Linked DNA regions of Homo sapiens: region 2 is linked to region 1. Evidence: promoter capture Hi-C in human tissues and cell types (Jung and others, 2019). All regions are on one chromosome and are shown on one strand. The core of a region is centred on a gene start or on the middle of the fragment in contact, and the rest is flanking DNA. Distances in the headings are between cores, read along the strand shown.

Evidence for each region. Contacts are between HindIII fragments. The study calls those that stand out against the background at their distance.
Region 2: a fragment that was not itself captured here is called in contact with the fragment with the promoter of KCNH8 in region 1 in 2 of the 25 tissues and cell types used here (H1 embryonic stem cells and dorsolateral prefrontal cortex).

Annotation. Positions count from the first base shown.
Region 1 is chr3:19,144,690-19,151,859 of GRCh38, forward strand. KCNH8 (potassium voltage-gated channel subfamily H member 8) reads left to right here and starts at 3,821. Exons shown (of 16, transcript NM_144633.3): 1 at 3,821-4,106. The coding sequence starts at 4,031. RefSeq lists enhancers at 2,076-2,669, 2,670-3,263 and a silencer at 2,211-2,382. The HindIII fragment of the contact is 8,005 bases long and covers 1-6,140 here.
Region 2 is chr3:19,274,388-19,281,745 of GRCh38, forward strand. KCNH8 (potassium voltage-gated channel subfamily H member 8) reads left to right here. Exons shown (of 16, transcript NM_144633.3): 3 at 6,811-6,942. Among named protein-coding and RNA genes, the nearest start is that of MIR4791, 37 kb to the right of the region's middle. The HindIII fragment of the contact is 3,819 bases long and covers 2,269-6,087 here.

The sequences.
Region 1 (7,170 bases), core at 2,571-5,070:
AAGAATAAAAATTGCTTTATCTGTGGCTTATAACTCTTAAGTGAATTTAATGTGTATTTTCTCTCTTGTGTGTTACATTTTCCCTATAAGGAATTATAGAGTTGAACCCAGATCTTGTACCCATAAATCTCAAATGCTTATGGAGACATAAAGAATAGGTAAAAATGGATTTTTAATCACATTAAGGAATGCTGTTATGAGGCAACTTCCTTTGAAACTCAAAATACTAACAAATTGATAGGAAGATTTTAAAACATGGCTCCATTTTATTTGATACTTGTTCCATCTAAAGGTTGGACTTTTCCCCCTTTCTGATTAACCTGGATTCTGTGCTTGCTTTCAATCTGGCCGTTTCTAGATCAGGCCTTAAGAAACTGGCAGTTCCTACTTCCTGTCTCTTCAGACACTCTGGAAACCACCATGCTGTGAGGAAGCCCAAGTAGTTCCTGGAGAGATCTACACCAATAACTGAAGCCCCAAGGCCCTAGCACTGGCTGAGCTCCCAGCTGAAAGCCAGCACCAAATTTCCATAACTTTGAGTGAACCATCTTGGAAGTGTATATTCCAGTTCCAGGTTAAGTGTACTCAGAAATAACCTGCCCCATTGATCCCTGTAAAAATTGGAGATCTGAAAGCAAAATACAATATTGTTGACATTTTAAGTCAGTAGGGTTTGGGGCAGTTTATTGTATCAGTGAACTTTGCCTAGGTTGGTTTTACCTAGAGGCCTTCTATAGTACATAATAGAGTACCTTGGTCTGGTTATAGGGATTTTGTGCCTTCCTTTACATTTTAAAGTGAAAGAAAAATATCTTTTCTGTGAACATGAATTTTTTATTATTATTGTTATACTTTTAAGTTCTAGGGTACATGTGCACAATGTGCAGGTTTGTTACATTGGTATACATGTGCCATGTTTGTTTGCTGCATCCATCAACTCGTCATTTACATTAGGTATTTCTCCTAATGCTATCCCTCCCCCAGCTCCCCAGCCCCCAACAGGCCCGGGTGTGTGATGTTCCCCTCCCTGTGTCCATGTGTTGTCATGAACATCAATATTTTTAATGAGGGCATTAAGTTTACTCTATTGTGTGGTTATCCTGTATTCTTGTAGCATTGTCTCGTTTAGTCCGTAGAGAAAGATCACATCCCTGTAGTGTGTGATCTACTATAAAATGAGTTGGGGTTTTTTGTGTCAATAAAATGAGTTGCAACAAAATGAGTTGGGTTTTTTTGTGTCAATAAGTGGGGACAGTGGGAAAATTTCCTTAAGGAAAGCACATGAGATTTGGTGATTTGGGGCAGATGATAGTGAAAACTCCAGACTCCCATGGTGCTTCTTTCACGGTCTTTGCTTTCCAGGTGGCAAAACATGTTTAAAGGGATTTAATATACTTAAACTTGGATGGAGGTCATGTTCTAATGGCACAATTTGGCCTCACTGATGCCACAAACCCTTAGGATGAACATTAGGTTTCGGGCTAGAACTTAAAAAGGGCCTGGAACTCAAGACCAGAGTGGTGATGGCTGTCTTCATTAAGAAACACTTCTTGGTGGGCAAAGGATATAAGAGATAGTTAGGTCCATCTACTGCAGTTCAGTAGAATACAGGGCTTGAATTTGAATTTAGGGCAGGGATCTTGCCATGCCTAGCACAGTTCCTGACACATAATAGGTGTTGGAGGGGAGACAGTGAATGATAAATGCCAGGCTCCTTTTGCCATGAAACTGGGGCTTTCTTTTGGGTTGTCATTTTTAAGCCACTATGTGGCTTGCTTCTTGCAGTGATTTCATATATTAGGTAACAGATCAGGACCACGAGGAAACAATTTTTACACACACGGCCCTACAGTGCAAATTGTTATGAACCACAGTCATAGCTTACAACTAATACATTTCATCCTGAACTTCGAGCCAATTCACGGGTGGCGTTTATCTCCGTTTTACATCGGCAGCAACAGCCTGAATTTTCTGGGACACGATGCGCCACCCAAACAACAGGGACTCCCTCATCTTTTTCTCCCCAGCTCCGCCCAAGACTGAGCCACATAGCCACCTGCAGTTGCGATCGGCTCGCCGCGTGGGGGACTCCACCCGCGTGAGCTCGGTTTCCGAAAAGCGAAGCTGGGGTGGGACACAAGGATTGAGGGGAGGACAGGGACGGACCTGCGGCAGAAGCAGGGTGCAGCTGGGCGAGGAACCCCACGTTGGTAGCTTCTCTTCTGGGATGGCCGCCCCGCGCCGCCCACTCCGGAATCCTGTCCCCTCCCCGGCGCGCCCCCGCCCAGCTAGCCTAGAGCCTCTGCCGGATCTTCTCGAATTTCAACACAAAGGGAATCCTCGGCCGCAGGAAGTGCATCACGAGAAAGGGGGCCTGGGGGCGGGGAGAGGGGGATGCCGCTTCTCTCTCTTCTCCCCCTCCCTCCCGGAGCCCAAGGCAGACGTGACGAAACCCGCGGGGTCCCCCCCGAAGCCCCAACAGCCGAGATAATTGAAACAAGAAACCCCCTTAGTAAGGGGGCGGGGGGTGGGCCCTCCCTCCCTCCTCCCGCCACGCCCGAGTTCCTGGAGATCAGAGCTGCCTCGCCGCGGCTCTGACACCTGTTTGCTTTTTCCCTCCTTTCCTTCCGGGTGCACTAGCACCTGGGCTTACGTTTGTTTTTCTACCCTGGGGCTCTCAACTTCCCTTCCACACTCCACCTCCCTTGCAGAGTTTTCTATAAAGTTCGGGCTCTGGGTGTCCCCTTGCACTCCCCACAGGGCTGTGCCGCAGGCTTGGGCGACTTTCCCCGCAGAACGTTGGCCGAGAGGGAGTCCCCGCGGGGGGGGCCAGGGGGGAGGACTGGGAGAGACCACTTTCGTTTTCTGAGACGCCTTCAGTTCCTGGCCGTCCGCCAGGCTTTCTTCTTGGAGGTGTCAGTCTTCGGGAGTGGGGGCTGGGGAAAGGGGGGCAGGCTAGGGGATTTGTGTTTGAAGCTATTTTTGGAAGGCAGCCTTACTGTTTTTACTTACGTGGTATTTTGCAAATTAATAAAAATAGCAAACTTTTCTAGAAATGCTTTATTCACATTTTACCGGAGAATGGGAAACCATCCATTGTCCGTTCAAAAGGCTATTTTTTTAAAGTTTGGGATGGCTTGGGGAGGCCAATGGCAATTTGGGGAGAAGGGCTGAAGCACCCCTTTTTGGAGCTCGGGGCCAGTTTCCCGGACTAAAAGACCCTGGTGACTGGGGATGGGCCTCACAACTAACTCGGGCTGCCCTGCCCCTGTCGCGTGGGCTCGCAATGGCAAGTGCTCCGGAAGGGGGCCGCCTCCCCGTGGGGCTCCTGGCTGCCTCTGCTCCCTTGGACACCACTGGGGGGCCTCCCCCTCCTAAGTTCTAGGTTGAGGCCGGATACCTGCCCCGACCTGTCTCCTCCCTTTCTCCAATACCACACCCACGGGACTCCAGTCTCCCCGGGAGTGGGACGGAGAGGGAACAAAGGGGTCTTTGTTCACTGGCTCCCGGGGCGTGGGAGTTGCGCTCGCTCTCCTTTCCCGGCGTCCCGTGGAGACCGGGAGGCTCAGCGCCTCTCCCAGCTCTCAGCGCCGCCCTCCCAGACCCCAGAGACGTCGGTCAGGGCGCGGCGCCCCGGGCCACTGCGGGCTCTTTCCGGGCGGGCGACGTGGGGGGCGAGGCACCGCGCGGCGGCGCCTGGCGGGCACTGTTGCCCGCGGAGGGACGGTGGGGGGGTTTCAGCAGCTGGCGGGGGTGGAGGGGGCGGGAGAGGGAGCCTGCGCCGGGCTGAGCCTGGAGGTGCGGGGCGGGCTCGGGGAGCGCTCTTGGGGCTCCTCCTGCCACAGCCGGGGCGGCTGGAACTCTCTCCCTTTCTCCCTCCATCCTTCCACTTCCCCTGCTCGGCCCCGCCGTCAGGCCGGGTCCCCCTTCCCTGCCGTCATCAGGTTCCCCTTCTCCCTTCTTGGCACTTTCCTTTCGAACCATCCTTCTGGACAAACTTTGATGGAGAATTTCACACCACGCTGGAAAAATGCCGGTTATGAAAGGATTACTGGCGCCGCAAAACACCTTCCTGGACACCATCGCCACCCGTTTTGACGGAACACGTAAGTCTTACACTTGAACGAGTGGTATGGCATTTTCTGAGACTGATTTTTCTCGTACACATTACTTTTGCTCCCACCTTCCCTTTTGCACCAGCGGAGTGAATTTTCTTCTGTTCTTGCCAAGGTATCTTTTGTGCGGAGAAATTTGTTCCCTCATGGTTTGGTGTAGTATTAACACTTTGTATTGGTGTAATAGTTGGCTCTCTTGAGTTCTTGGGTTTGTTAAGGACTGAAACGCAGCCTGAGGAAAGACCGACGCCCGTATTCACTGTGGGACCTGCATTTTGGTGTATCTTTAGGGAATTGGTTGTAATTTTCTGAGGTGAAAAGGGGAATATCGGTGTACCTAATCTTTCTAGAGTTTCAAGGCTCCCTAGATCAAAAGGAGAGCTTGGAGTGTTCTTTCTTGGAGCTTCATTCCGTGATATATTTCGGATAGGTATGATTTTCTATCTGAGTTTAAGAAATGCAGGATTGCCAAGTGTAAGCTTTCTGTAGAATTTTAAGTGTTGTGAGTTTGTCAGAACCTTGATTCCTGCTTTTGAGCTAGAATAGCGTATCTTTTAATCCTTAAATGAGCCTAACACTCAAGCAGAGGCTGTTCAGGAAGAAGGACATGAATAAAGACGATTTGATGATAAGAGAAAGTTTTTAGTTTTTTTTTTTTGAGTACGAATATTATTGGACATTTAGCTCATTTAAGCTACAGTAGGAAAAAAAATAGATAGGATGTTGTGTGGTTGCTAGCAGACGGTTCGTTATCATCTGCAAGTTGTTCTCTTTCAGGACCACGGTCAGGTCCCCACTCCTTCTCAGGCTTTTCAAGCTCTCTACTTGACCCTGTGGATCTTCCTAGCTGGCTTTAACCCTGTAATTAGGAGTCTGTACTACCACCCCTAACAAATGCTCTCAGTTGGTTTCACTACGAATATCCTCATCTTCTTTCTAGCTTATCTTGCTTCTGTGCACTGTCTTCCATTTTTCTGTTGAGACTCAGAGAAACTCATTTATCCTAAAGTCCTTCTTAGTGGTTCAAGTGTCATTGCTTTTACTCTGTATATTTCTTGGAGCTGATATGGGAGAGCAATACTAATTTCATTTCCACTCCAGTAGTCTAAATACACAGTCTTATCTTTGGGTGGGAAGCAAGTCTTGGACTTATGCTTCAGGGATAGTTGGAAAAGTTTACATGAGAAAGAAATGAATCACTTTAATTTTGTTCAGTTTTTATTTTTGACATCTAGTCTAATCATGGTAGTTGGTGTGGATATTTGGTCACTTCATAAGTGTTTTTATCTTTACATCTAGCCATTCTTTTCCCTTTTATATTCTAAATGTGTTAGATGTTATGTATGAGGTGTAATGTTATTACGTATGTCTTTTTTAGATAATAATGATAAATATTATAGGAAAACTTCAAGTCCCTGCCATTGCCACTACCACACCACTGAAGCGCCACACAAAATCACCACTGCTGTGTTTTACCATGCATGATGGCGGATACTACTATTTTACTATTCATTACCTGAGGTACTGATCAGTTTAATGTGGATGTTTTTTTTTTTGAAGTTGAACATCCAAAACTAAAAGGCTGTAAACATTGATCCTGAATTTGTCTATTGAAAATGAGGTAATTGGCAAATGGTAATTGTTTATCTCATTGCCATTTAAAGTTGAATGAAGTGTAATGTGTAGTGAATCATCCCAGCACAGCCTTGGGAATTACTGCAGTGATACATTCAGATATCAATTGCTAATGAGAGGGGCTTTAAATCATCAGCGTGGAAATATCTTGGCCTCTGACTCTGACTATAGTGATATGCATGATAAGCAGGAGGGCATGTAGGGAGAGATGGATGTACTTGTGAATAGTTCTTTTTCTATGTTGGCTACACATTAATGTTAATAAGATAGGTTAGATACTTTAAATCCTTATTTTTAAAGAAGACCATCCTGACATACCTGTATTTAGTATAGTAAGAAATCAAAAAGTCTTTTGGAGACCATGCTTGGTCTGTGCTCCACAGCATCTGGGGGATTCCTGGAGGGAACCAGTTTGCATGAAATCTGACAATCAGAGAAGCAAATTTGAAGGTGATAAGTAACATAAGGGTTGACTTTGGCAAGGTTTTGTTTACAACATTTAGTGAACACCTCTCCTCCCAAGAAACCCCCACTCAATGAAAGAGGGTTTTCTTTTCTCATTTTCTTTTCCTTTCTTTTTTTTTTCTTTTTGAATAGCAGGATGACTTGAATAATCTGAAACTTAAAATACCTTAAACAAAATTTTAGCCACAAATTTTGGTATATCTAGAATAATGGGTATACCATTTTTCCAGCTAGCTATTTACTTTATCTTCTTATGCCATTGTTTCTTGTTGATACAGTTTTGTAATTACTATCTCTGAAACTATTTTCCTATGATAATCCTTACTTCTATTGATTTTTATAGCTGTCATTTATTTTCTTTTGCAAGAGAAAACTATTTACAAATTTTAAATTTACAAAATTGCCACCTACTCAAAAACTTTGCTGGAAAGTGAATAATGTTAATTATACTGAATATGTAATATGCTGAGTTGGTATAATTTTTACCTTATTTGTGAAGTATATTTTACGGTCATGCTAGTTTCTTATTTTATTTTGGACAATTTTTATGAAAAAAAAATTAGAGAGCAAACAACAACCCTGGCAAACTGCCTTGCTAATGTACCCAACATGCAGTATTATTATTAGCCTTATTAATTTATTTTATTGGAGAATAATAAAACAATGTAAGACATCATCTGAAAATCCTCCCAGGAAAAATAAATATATGACAACATAAAACTCTATAACATAATCCTACTATTTATCAGTTGAGATATTATCACAGGGCAACATAATGGAAGTTAATAATACATTTTATAACTTAGTGACACTTTATTATTTTACATATTATAATATTTCTTTTTAATATTTAAAAAGTGAGGTCTGTCAGGATTGAAAGACACTTGTGGATTATTAATTGAGGCTATTTTTTTCTGATATGCAATATAATTTGCAACCATTATTGAAAAATAAA
Region 2 (7,358 bases), core at 2,928-5,427, 130 kb after region 1:
TCTTTATCTCCAGTTCTCATTGGACTGTACTCAGTTGTTCCATTTCCTACTATAAAACTATCGCTGCTGAATTTGTGTTTAACTGTACATGGAAACTCCTTTCAACTGTAGGTAAGAATTATCTGTGTTTACCATGGGAACCAATTTGGTTTTCTTAAAGCAAGTATTAGTTCTACTGGTCAATAACCCCAGTTAATTTGTTGAGCAAGGATGTTGGATGTATTGACTAAATCATGTCTTGGGGATATTTTTGCACCTGAAGTTTCCAGGCTCCTCTTGTTCCTAATTATTAGAGATTTCTGAGAGGTGGCTATACATACACCTGGGAAATGAATAAAGTACTTTTATTTAAGGAGAAAGGTAACTTGGATCAAAATGAAAAGAGGATTAAAAACTTGACACGTTTCAATCAGTTAATCATAACTTGATTTCCCTTCCCTTCCCTCCCCTCCCCACCCCTCCCCTCCCCTCCCCACCCCTCCCCTCCCCACCCCTCCCCTCCCCTTCCCTTCCCTCTCTCTCTCTCTCAGTCAGATATTCTGACTTAACATAGCACTTTTCTCAAAAGTTTGAAATGGAAGTATCCATTAGAACATATTTTAAATTATCAAGAATATATAAAAAATTATTCCCCAGAAATATGATCTCATCATTCTTATTGCTCCAGTCTTGAACTCTTTACATCTCTACCTCAAATCACTGGAGTTGACAGAATCCTACTATATATTTCTTCATGCTTATTCTAGAAAACCTGAAAATAAAGATGCTGAAAAGAAAAGGAAATTAAACCATAATTTACAATCCACCATTGTGGATTTTATGTTTATTCTGCCAGTGTTTTTTCAACTCAATATAGTATGCGTATTCTACCCATCTGTTTTTAACGCAAAAAGAAGTTTAAAACACAGTGTGTTTTATTTTTCATTAAACATTGAAATGAAGGGTATCCTTAGCCACCACCCAGTTCAGGGAGCTCTCCAGCTGTGTCAGTTCATCTCCTGTCTACCCCCCACGCTGCCCTCCACTGTTACACAGGGAGTCAGGAAACCAGTGCCATTTACTTTGGCTCACTAGTATCCTGGGGCATTTGGAGGAGGGGTATTGACCCGACGTAAATTCAGTGAGGACTGAGCAAAGACTTGCAGCCTATATGAGCTGCATTGTAGATAGATGGTCCCTGGAAGAAATGTTCACTGCAGATAAGGTGAAGCTTTTACCTCATGTTTTCTAAAGAACCATTACTTTCATCTCTTAGTATAGTACAAACATCAGGAAGGGCTGGTGACGATGCTGTAGAGACTTATTTGCCAAGCAGCTTTGGGTATTCCAGGGAACATTCCCCTCCTTTTTAACATGACACCTTTTTTTAGTTCACCTCTTTGCACGTCCATCACATTCCCGTATTTTCTAGTCCCTTGAAAGACACTTTCCATATTGATTAGAGTCTGGAATGTTGTGCTGATTTGAGCAAACAGTGAAAAGCCGTCAGGTGTTTTTAATCGGGATCCTGTATTGTCAAAGGTTGTTGGCAGTAGCATGGGAGGAAGACTAGAGGCAGGAAGAATACTTTGGAAAAGTGGGCAAGAGATGACTGAAACCGAACAAAACAGTAGCAAATATAATAAAGTGGAGGGGTAACTTGGAGCTTTCTGGTAGATTCAGTTAGGACTGAATTACTGCCCCACTCTTTCTGCTGAAGAAATGAGTGTCCCTTCACCCAGCCACAATTCATAGCAGCCTTGTTTACTCACCTGCAGCTCTTTCCCCACTCCCACCCCAATATGTATATGTGTGTGTGTGTGTGTGTGTGTGTGTGTGTGTGTGTATACATGTATGTATTTTCTCTGGACTAATTTCTAAAAACTGGCAAGCCTGTTATTTTATCATTAAGTAGCACTGAGACAATGGTTGTAGAGAACAAGACTCATCAGACTTAATGTGAACTAGGAGGAACACCTGGAAATGTTTAGGTCACATAACCCTGATGCTCTTAACCCTTGGGATATTATGTTATTGTTGCTATAATTTCAAAAAGTAAAGATGTTATGTATTTATCATTAAAAATTTATTCAAAATCCTGCTTGATATTAGAAACAAGAGAACATCAAATGTGTCCATATCTCACTTTGACCTATTGTGTTATATTGAGCAATGCACTATTTCCCATCATGACAGCACAGTCATTAAAGAGAGTGGGACCACTCACAACTCAGTTTTCCTTATACCTGCACCTCCTTGTATTAAGTTATTAAACCATGAACCCATACTAGAAACATTATTATTAGTTAGCTATTATGAGTTTTTATCTATTGACAAATATATTTTAGTGCTGTCTGGAAAGCATATGAGTTCTCTAATAATTATAAATATTAGCAAAAATTAGTACAGCTACTATGAAGAAAAGTATGGAATGGTCTTCAAAAACCCACAGATAAAACTTCCATATAATCCAGCAATTCCATTACCATGTATATATCCCAAAGAAAGGAAATCAATATATTAAAGAGATATCTGCATTCCTGTATTTATTGCAGCACTATTCACAATATCCAAGTTATGGAATCAACCTAAGTGCCCATCAAGGTATGGATAAAGTGTGATATATATACATAATGGAATATTATTTGGCCATAAAAAATGAAGTTCTGTCATTTGCAGAAGAAACATTGATAGAACTGGAGGCCCTTATGTTGAGTGACAGAAGTCAAGCACAGAAAGACAAATATTGCATGTTCTCATTCATATTTGAGAGCTAAAAAAGTGGCTCTTATGAAGATAGAGGGTAGACTGTTGGTTACCCTAGACTAGGAAGGGGAGGCAGGGGGATGAAGGGAAAAATATCTATAAAGATATTTATTACCACTGAACTGTATATTTAAAAATGGTAAAGATGGGCTGTGCATGGTGGCTTATGCCTGTAATTCAAGTGCTTTGAGAGGCCAAGGTGGCAGGATCCCTTGAACACCGGAGTTTGAGACCAGCGTGGGAAACATAGGGAGATCCCCATCTCTACAGAAAAATTTAAAACTAGCCAGGCGTGGTGGTGCACGTCTGTAGTCCTAGCTACTTGGGAGGCTGAGGTGGCAGGATTGTTTGACTCTAAAGTAGGCTGTGATCATGCCACTGCACTCCTACCTGTGTGATAGAGTAAGACTTTCTCTTAAAAAACAAAAAGGCACAGGTGGTAAACTATGTATGTATGTTTTACCTCAATAAAAAGAAATACACAAAAATATTAGCAAGTCAAATTATCCTGCATCCTTGTTTCCCAATCAAGAAAAAGAAAGTACCAAAATGGAGACAAGGGACATTCCACCAGATTTAAGCTTTTGTGTAACTATTCAATTCCAAAAATAGATTTTTCCATATAAGGTAAAAACCTTGTTTTCTCTCCACAATTGTATTTATCCATAGAAATTAAAGGTGTCATTAACCTAAATCCTGTCAGAGCCTCATCTGTGTTGACACTCTCCAACCCACATGGTAATTACTGCTGCTATATAAAGAAGGAGTTAAAATTCTCATGAAATGTCTGCCCTCTGACTCTGCTCTTATCATTCACATCTCTGAATTTGAGGCTGTGGGACTTGCAGCCTCCCACCTTAACCCTAAGAGAGATTTGTTGCACTGGGCCTGAATTGCTCTTGACTGAAAGAGTTGATCATTGTGCCCACAGGTAAGAGAGGAAGAGCCAGATCCTGGAGAATAGTCTTGAATTATTGCATTCATAAGAGGTGAAAGGTGTCATTAGAAATGCAGGGTGGAGGGCTTGCTGGAAAGATTTAGGAAAGCAGAGAAGCAAAGGATAAGCGAGCATGCTAAGTATAAAGAGTCTTGCATTGAACATGATTGGTAGCTTTTGGCATCTATTATCTTTCTAGAAGATAATGCAGTTGGTATATGCTTTGTGTTCTTCTAAAATTGAGAAAGAAAAGCATAAATATACCTGAATATTCGTAAGATTATTGGTGTGGATAAATCTGGAGGGACAGTTGAAAGGAAAAAAGGAAGGAGGGAGGGAAGGAGGGAGGGAAGGAGGGAGAGATGGAGGGAGAAAGGCAGGCAGGAAGGAAGGAAAGGGAAGGGAAGGAAGGAAGGAGGGAAATGAGGAAGGGAGGGAGGGAGGGAAGGAACAAAGGAAGGAGGGAAATAAGGGAGGAAGGGAGGGAGGGAGGGAGGAGGAAGGGAGGGAGGGAAGGAAGGAAATAGTTTTTATGCCCTTTACACTGTTTCTCTCATAAACTTTTTTGTCATATAGGCACTAGGAAGGTAGACATCAGCCTAGTTCATGTAAAATCATTCCAAAGCTTGAATTTAGAAAGATCCAAAGTAATGAAGTTTTATTGAATTTATAAAATGTTAGTGATCACATCACTGTAACTTAAAAGACAAATCTCAAAGTAAACTTTCAGTTATTCCAGAATATAATGTGAAATGATGGCTGTGCCTCAAGGGCTGATCAGTGAATATTGCCATATCAACAGCTGTTTCCTTGGTTTTCACCTCATGTGGTTTTGGCTCTTTCCAAAATATATTGGTGCACCTATGCAAAGGCTCTTTGGAGACAGTAATGATACTTGTCTGAGTACACAGATAGAAGATTTTCAGGAAAATTAATAGCCTCGGTTATGATTTGGTGATGTTCTTGCAAGGTAATTGACAGAGAGGTGCTTTAAAATGTCAACCAAAATGTCAGATTTCATACCGTTCTTTGTGTCCCCACTATTACTTTCTCTAAGGTCTGATTATTAGTTTAGCCTGATGGCTCTTTTTGTTTCTATCATAGCTACAGCATTGAAAAAGGCTCCCAGTCTGAAATGGTGACCATAGATAAAATTTCAATTAAGAACCATTCTGGGATGACGAGGATAGCAGTGTTTGGCTATGGGTATGGCTCATTTATGAGGCTTCTCCATGAATCACAAACACTTGAGTTGATTTATTGTCTCAGCATTTTTGGGGTCACTGTATTCACTACTGGAGTGAAGGATGTGACAATGTTACAATGAAGGGAACCAAGTTCCAGATGGGTTAATCGACTTCCCTATCGTTTCATGGCTAGTTAGTATTAGAACCATGGTTAGATCCCAGGTCTTCTAGAGCCTGGTAATGAGCTATTGAAATGAGATTGCCATGGCATAGATATTGGGGCAGATGAATGAAATGGGATGCCATAGGGCTAAAAAAAAAAAAAAAATAAGGAGGAAATCATGACTCTAAAACTATTGGGAGAATACAGAGGAACGAGCATATTTTATATTCCATGTGTAACTTATGAGAGCAGCACATCATACATCATCCAACCATTCTTTTAAACAAATACAGCAGCAGCTACGATAAAATAAGACTTTTATATCAGATGGCTCCTAAATATAAATTAGTGGCTTCACCTGGTGTTTAACTGCAGAAAAAAATGATAGATCCCAAGGCTGGATGAATACATAGCTGTGTTGGAAATTATGAGGTCTAATACAGTGTATGCAAGACAACTCAAAATATCAGGGATATTTCTGACCCTCATATTTTTGTCTTATACCCTGACTTTGAAATCAACACCCAAATAAGACAAGAATTCACAGTATTGAAGTCTTTTTCCCCTCATCAAAAGAAAATGAAGGAAAATTATGTATGAATAGATTAATAGTTTAGTTTTTAAGCAACAACAACTTTATCATCATTTTCAAATATTCCTGTCCAGAATGCCTTTCAGTAGGAAATACAGTGCAAGATTTTTTTACATATTTCTAAAATACATATTTTAAAATATATTTAAACATTGAAAATATAAGCTTTAGGCAGTACCATTTGGCTACTATATTTTGAATTTGAATCTTAATGACATTTCTCATGGTTTTTTGCTCAAAAATTGAATGGAATTTGATTATTTCTTCTTCAAATATTTTTTGAAATGTGACATGCTTACTGAAAAATACATGTAAGCATTTAAGAACTGAACACTCCTATGTAAACAGCATAAAGATCATGTAACAAAACTTGACCAGCATCCTACAACTCCCAGACCTGAATGCCTTTCTAATCACAATTTCCCCAAAGTAACCGTTAACCTGACTTTTAACATCATAGATTAGTTCTGCCTGTTTTTGTATTTAATGTAAACAAATTCTTATTGCATTCTATTTGTGTTTACGTATTTTACTTACATTATATTAGTGATATTCATCTATTTGGTTTCAAATGATTGTAAGTCACTCATTCACGCTGATGTATAATGTTGTATTGTGAAACTAAATTTTAATACTACCTGTGTTTAAAGTAGATGTATTAATTTGAATCAGCCAGCAATGTATGAGAGTTTAAGTGGCTGTGCACGCTCCCCAAAACTTGATACTTTTCACCTTTTTTATTTTAGCATTCTGTTGGGCAAGCTTTGATTTTTAAATTGACTAAATAAACCTCTGGCAAACTCATACCAAACAAAGGTCTTTATTGAAGAACGAGTGTGTGCTGGGGGTGGGAAGGGGCAATCTCTCATAAAGTGGAATGCTTCAGCATCAACGAGTTCAAAGAGGAAATGCAGTTTGAATAATGTAAGCAGAAATGTCTCAGCACAGACAAGTGTTTTTGTTTAAAATACTTCTTTATTTTCAGAAAAAGCATTTCCTTTGGAATGAAGAGAGATGTATATAGGATAGAAATTTATGGAACCTGAAAACTGACATTTTTAAGATGGAGGGAGTTGTGGGATTGAAGAAAACACTAAGGGCTTTATTTTTTATTGATGATTGAGATTTCCATAGAGATAACACAAGGCAATGGTTGATTTGTATTTTTTTTTCTTTACTGTTGCAGGGTCTCCATTTTGGTGCCTACTGGATATTGTTCCCATAAAGAATGAAAAAGGAGATGTAGTACTTTTTCTGGCCTCGTTCAAAGATATAACAGATACAAAAGTGAAGATTACTCCAGAAGATAAAAAAGAAGGTTTGTACCGTTTTCAGAAAACATTGACAGATGGAGTAACATTTTGAAATTGTTTACTTAAAAACTCTTGGAGAAAAACATGCATTTTTAATAACAGCAACTGATAAATATTCGTAACTGTTAGCAGTCAGCATTTGGTGCATATTCCAAATCACAGACTCACATGCATTTACATTCTATCGTCTTTATAATAAAGACACACTTGACAGGAACTAGAAGTTCATATTCCTATGCTAATATGAGGAGGATGAGAAAACAGTTTATCACAATGTAAGGATTAACACCACTTCATTGTATTAGGCAAAAATTAATGGATGGGATAAGTGTCTTTAGGAGGATGTGATTTAAAATACATCTCTCCATTTCCTCTAGATTGCTGTAGCTCAAAACTTAGATGTGCGAAGTGTAGTTATGTA